Regions from separate parts of the Homo sapiens genome. Here region 2 is linked to region 1. Evidence: promoter capture Hi-C in human tissues and cell types (Jung and others, 2019). All regions are on one chromosome and are shown on one strand. The core of a region is centred on a gene start or on the middle of the fragment in contact, and the rest is flanking DNA. Distances in the headings are between cores, read along the strand shown. Region 1 holds the start of RGS12 (regulator of G protein signaling 12). Region 2 has its middle 180 kb from the start of ADRA2C.

Evidence for each region. The method cuts DNA at HindIII sites, captures the fragments that hold promoters and counts their contacts. A contact is called where the count stands out against the background at its distance.
Region 2: a contact is called between a fragment that was not itself captured here and the fragment with the promoter of RGS12 in region 1, in 2 of the 25 tissues and cell types used here (dorsolateral prefrontal cortex and lymphoblastoid cells).

What each region holds. Positions count from the first base shown.
Region 1 is chr4:3,291,660-3,294,427 of GRCh38, reverse strand. It overlaps RGS12 (regulator of G protein signaling 12), which reads right to left and starts at 1,407. Exons shown (of 18, transcript NM_001394154.1): 1 at 1,329-1,407. RefSeq lists an enhancer at 33-618 and silencers at 1,272-1,321, 1,332-1,811, 1,992-2,101. The HindIII fragment of the contact is 22,100 bases long and covers 1-2,768 here.
Region 2 is chr4:3,940,542-3,943,309 of GRCh38, reverse strand. It overlaps the pseudogene ALG1L7P and the pseudogene FAM86EP. Among named protein-coding and RNA genes, the nearest start is that of ADRA2C, 180 kb to the right of the region's middle. The HindIII fragment of the contact is 3,071 bases long and covers 1-2,768 here.

The sequences.
Region 1 (2,768 bases), core at 158-2,657:
CTCCCTTACTCAGAATTGCTCTGCCCTCCCCACGTCGCCTTCTCTAGGGGAAGGCCAGCAGGACTCCACCCCAGCAGCCCTTGCTGCCCAAAGCCGCCTCTCTGCCCTCCTTGGTAGTCTCCTTGCTGTGAATGGTGGGGCTGCTGCCTTGCCTGGGAAGGCCCCCCAGCGCCCCTTCTGTGCAGGCCTTGCCGGCCATCCTGCACGTCCCTGTGGCCTCAGAAGGGCCCTGCACAGGACGGCATGGACCACGCTGAGGACTTCAGACAAAGACACTCTTAGCCCTTGCAGCAGCTCCAAAGACAGGTCCAATGAGGAAACTCAGGCACAGAGAAGGTGGTCACCTGCCCAGGGACACATTCCCAGCAAGTGACCAAGCAGGTGAGAGGCCAGGTGGTCCTCTCTGTCCACACTCCACGGCTCTGGGCCCCCTCTGTGTTCACCCTCCACTGTCTACACTCCATGGCTCTGGGCCCCTTCTCTGTCTGCACGGCTATGAGACTCTGTCTACACTCCACAGCTATGGGTCCCCTCTCTGTCTACACTAGATGGCTCTGGGCCCTCTCTCTGTCTACACTCCACGGCTCTGGGCCCCCTCTCGGTCTACACTCCACGGCTCTGGGCCCCCTCTCTGTCCACACTCCACAGCTCTGGGCCCCCTCTCTGTCTACACTCCACTGTTTATACTCCATGGCTCTGGGCGCCCTTTCTGTCTACACTCCACAGCTCTGGGTCCCCTCTCTGTCCCCATTCCACAGCTTTGGGCCCCTCTCTGTCTACACCGCACGGCTCTGGGACCCCTCTGTCTACACTGCACAATCGCGGCACCGCGGCTGAGGCGACCCCAGGTCGCTGCAGTGCGTCTGGAGTTCGGGTCTCGGAAGGCAGCTTCTGCCCTAACAAAGCGGCCGCTCGTGGAGTCCGACGAGGGAACCCTCCCAGCGCTCCCGGGCGCATCTCGCCCGCGGGACCCCCTGCCCGGCGCCGCCCCCGCGGGTCCCGCCAAGGGCCCGGGCGGGCCTCACAGCGCGGGGCCCCAGGAGGCCGCGCACCCGCCCGGCCGGAGGCCCCACAGGCCCGCGCCCCGCGCCGCCCGCCCCCGCCCCCGCCCCGCCCCGCCCCGCGCCGGGCCCGGGACCAGGAGCCTGAGTCAGGCCGGCGAACAAAAGGCAGGGCGGGCGGGCGGCGACCCCGAGGGGACGGGCGCCGCGCAGGGCTGGCCGGGATCGGCCGGGAGGCGGAGGGCGCGGGCGCGCGCCCCGGAGACGAAAGAAAGAGCGGAGGCGGCGCGCCCTGCCCCCGCCCCGGCCCCGGCCCCGCACACCTACCGGGCCGCGCCGCTCGCTCCCGCTCCGGGCGCTTCGGCCCGCGCCACCGCCCGCGCGCGCAACGGTCGCCTCGGCAGCCACCGCCCCCCGGGGTCGAGGCGAGGGCGGGGCCGAGGCCGGAGGAGGGGCGGGGACGGAGAGGGGCGGGGCGAACCTGGTGAGGCGGGGCCAAGGGGGTGGGGTTGGGGCGGGGCGATGCGGGGGCGGGGCACGGGGCGGGGCGAGGGCCTTCGCGTCGGGACAGCGTGGTAACGGGACTGCCAGGGAAGCAGGGATGAGAAGAAGCGAGGGACGGGGCCTCCACGGCCGGGGGCGGGACTTCCGTTGGGGGCGCGGCGGCGCTGGTGCGCACGGTGTGTACCCGCACTGGCCCGGCCCTGGTGCTGGGAGCGACTGCGTTCCCGCAAGCTGGTTTTCTCTGCCTCCGCTGGCCCGGGACACCCTGCGAAGGGCAGGTCGGTGTGGCCGGGAGGAGCCGCCCCTGCCTGGGCTGTCTCTGTCCTTCGCCGTCGGTGTCCGAGGAAGTCCCGCTCCCGTTGGGTCTCTGTGCCCGGGAAACCTGGCTGTGGGGAGTCAGGCCCCGGCGCCCTGGCTTTTCGGCTGGGCAGATGCCCGGAGCTGGCGGCAGCTTCGGGGGCGGCGTGAGTTCCCGCGGCGAAGCCACGGGGACAGCCAGGAAAGGCCGTTCCCTCCGGGCCCCGGGACGCCCGCGAAGGCGGCGCGGTGACTGCGGCGTCCAGCGGGTCTGCCCCTCCCGGAGCGCGGGCAGCAGCGAGGGCGGGACCGGAGGCACCGCTGGCACGAGAGGAGGAGCTGCCCGGCCCCGGCCTGCGCCTCTGGCCCTGTCCCAGCCGCCGCCTTCACCCTTTAGGCCGGAGTTCCTTCCTCGCCCTCTTCGTGTCTTCCTTCCCCGGCGCTGGGTCTCCCTGCCCCTTCCTTCCTGCCTTCCCCTCATTCTCTCCCGCCGCGTTTTTCCCTCGAGACGCATCCGTCGCTGCTGTTCACGCTCCAGCCCTGCCGCCCGCCCAGGGACTCGGCCCCTCTCGGGTTTGCTTCTTTCCTGTCACCTGCCTTGATGGGCTCAAAACGCTTCCCCTCCGTCCCCGCCACCGCCCCATGGTTTCTTGGCAGCTCTCCATCATCTAGTCTTGTGTGATTAGTTTGGATCCCAGGAGGAAACCAATGGCATTCTCAGTGGGACAATTAATTAAGAGTCCAGCAGGGTTCCCGCTGGCAGAGGCGCGGTCCGGGAGCCGGGAAGCCACAGGGCGGTGCTGAATTGGGACAGGTAACAGCAGGGAGGGAACTGTTTTCACCTGCAGGGCTGAAGGAGCGCGGCCAGAGCGGTTACAGGAAGCCAGACAAAGAGAGAGAGATACTTAACAGGAGCTGCGACCTATGGCCAAGGGACACAGCCAGCCCTTGATGACCCAGCAGAGA
Region 2 (2,768 bases), core at 74-2,573, 650 kb before region 1:
AGCACTTGGAGATGGCAATGCTGAACCTAATACTGTAGGACTCACACGCGACTTCAACGGGATTGTGAGGATCAAGTCACTCTCATGGGAAGAATTTTTACATGGGAAAGCGGATAAAACTTTCATTGGACTGGAATGTTTGGAGAATATTAATTTCCAAATCAGGAACCACAAACTGCCCTCTAATAAGACATCGGCTATCTAAGCGTGTGGGTGCCCCCTTTCTGCCAGCAGTTCTGGTTCTTAAGAAAATCACCATAAATCAGACATGAAAATTCTGGCTCTAAAAATAGCATTTTCTTTGTGCAAATAAAAACGTGTGTATCAAGTATGATGTTCCCCCAACGTGGACACACCCGGTTCCTCACAAAGCCAAGCCCGCTGCAGCTGCCACATCCCTGGGCTTACTGTGCAGCAGGTGCTTTTTTCAAGACAGGAATCAAAATATTAGGAACACGGCAGAAAGGCGACACCTGGAGACCAAACGCAGGATGAGGAGTACTGCAGAGGTCACAGGGAAGTCACAGAACAGTAGTACGCTAGCAGGGGCATGGGGCGTGAAGAACAGAAGAAGAGAGGAAGTGTTTCCAAGCCTCCAAAAAAGAAATCAGAGCCAACCACAGCTTCCCGGGTCACAGAAGCAATTCACTCACCAGGCGGCACCACTGCCGTCATTTCAGCTTCTGGCCACTGGGAGGCGCTGCTTGAAAGGGTTTGCCCTGAGACTCCAAGAAGAAGCTGCGGGAAGGACAGCAGGGGCCCTGGGGTTTTAGCCTCTGGCCCAGGAGTTATGTGTCCATAACCAAAGGGAGCACAGTCTGCACCCAGCTCTCATCCCATCGGAGCTGCTGCGACTCCCGCAGGTTCTTCCGGAACAGGTTTAGCTTGCCTGCAGGATCAGGAAAGTTTGAGAAAAGCATCTGCATAATACTAAAGAGCAGAGCTTACCTCATTGCCTGTCCCCACCGCATCCCAGGTCACCACCTGGCTGACCCCAGGTGCCCGACCCAACAACAACCCCTACCAAGTTCTTAACTCCCTCACTTGGACTCGAGACTCTTCACGCCCCAGCAGCGCTCCGCCTCCAACTTGACATCACGCTTTCTGGGAACTTCCCCGCATGTCCCACTTTCCCACACTTGGTGTCCTGGGGCACCTCCCGGCCTCTTCATGCTGTATGCTCCCCTGCGAGCACCCTCCTCTTGGCCTCTGGCCAAGTCCCACCCATCTGTGGGTAACAAGGGGGTGTCGGTGTTCTTTTCAGCCTTGCTAAACTGTCTGAATCAAGGATCACAAACTACAGCCTGCAGGCCAAATCCAGCCCACAGCCTGTGTTTGTAAATAAAGATTTATTGGAACAAAGCCACACCCCTTAATCTACAGATGATCTGTGGCTACTTTCACACCCCAACAGAGTACCATGGTTCTGACAGAGACTAGGGGACCCAGTCTAAATGACTTCCGACTTGGACCTTTACTGAAAATCCTGCCAGTCATTCTGTTGGCAAGAACGATGTATTACTTTTTGCAATAAGAAACAAGTAACATTTGCAGAATTCCACCCATCTTTCAAGGCTGGTCCCAGAAGCTCCCTTTGCCCACTCACCTACCTGATCCTGCTCACTTCCTAAACTGCAGCCCGGCCCACCCGGCTCCAGCGTCATTTGTGGAGTGTCTGTTCCATAAATCCAGCGGGCAGGCGGGCAGGTGGGGTTGTGTCCTAACTTTCCCGAGCCTACTGTACCGAAACGGGACAGCAGAGTAGGCCAGCCTCTGTGACCTCTGCTCCCTCCCTAGCTTTTCCGCCAGACCCCACATGGTCCCACCCCGACTGTGGGAAGCAGGGATCAGGGAGCGTGGCTCGGTGCCAGTCTCCAGAACCCTGCCCACCCTGGCTTAGTGGCAGATGTGGCTACCTGCAGCTGAGCTGCCAGTTCCTCTGAGTCCTCAAAGACCAAGCCGTTTTCTTGATGTTTCACCAGCTCATGTAAACTGCAGAGAGAACCAAGGGAGCCTGAGAGCTGCCTGGAGAAGACACCAGACCCCTGGGGTGCCCACCTGGGCTCCCCTCGCACCCCACGCTCAAGCCAGGCTGGGGATTGGAACAGGGGGTGTGGTTTCTGGGAGCTGGTTCTTAGATTTGGCATCTGAAGGGTATAAAGGCCTGGGGGAGTGCACATCAAAATGGCCAAACCGATTTGAGGAGGGAGCCTTAAGGAGGGTTTGTACCTTCTGTGCTGGATGCTCTTCAAGGACTGAAGAATTATTTTTGTATGTTTTTCTTAATTCCATGGCTGTGGAACAAGTAAGGCAACCCCCTGGAGACTGGTTCAGCACATAAAAGATGACTTTTCTAGGGCACCAGATTTGATCAAGACGTTCCCTGAGCTCAGCTCACACGAGGGGCTTGAATCCCTGAATCCCATCCAGGAGCCGGCTCCTGAGCAGGGGCCAAGGGCTCAACTTGTGCTGGGGCTACTGCTTCTAGAATCTCCTCTAACGCCACCCTTCCAAACACCCATCTATGCTGGGTGCAGTGAGGCCACAGCATGACACTCATTTAACTCATTCAAACCCACCATGTGAGCTTGGCCAAAAGGGACATGGTGGGAGAGAAAAACAAAGAAAACCATGTAAGCCTGCAGGCAATTCCCGCCAATTCTACTCTAGGAGCAAAAGCCCCGAGTGGAGTTCTAGTATTTAAGGTGCTTTCTTTTTTCATATTAGGTTGGTGCAAAAGTTATTGCCATTTTTAATGGCAAAAACCG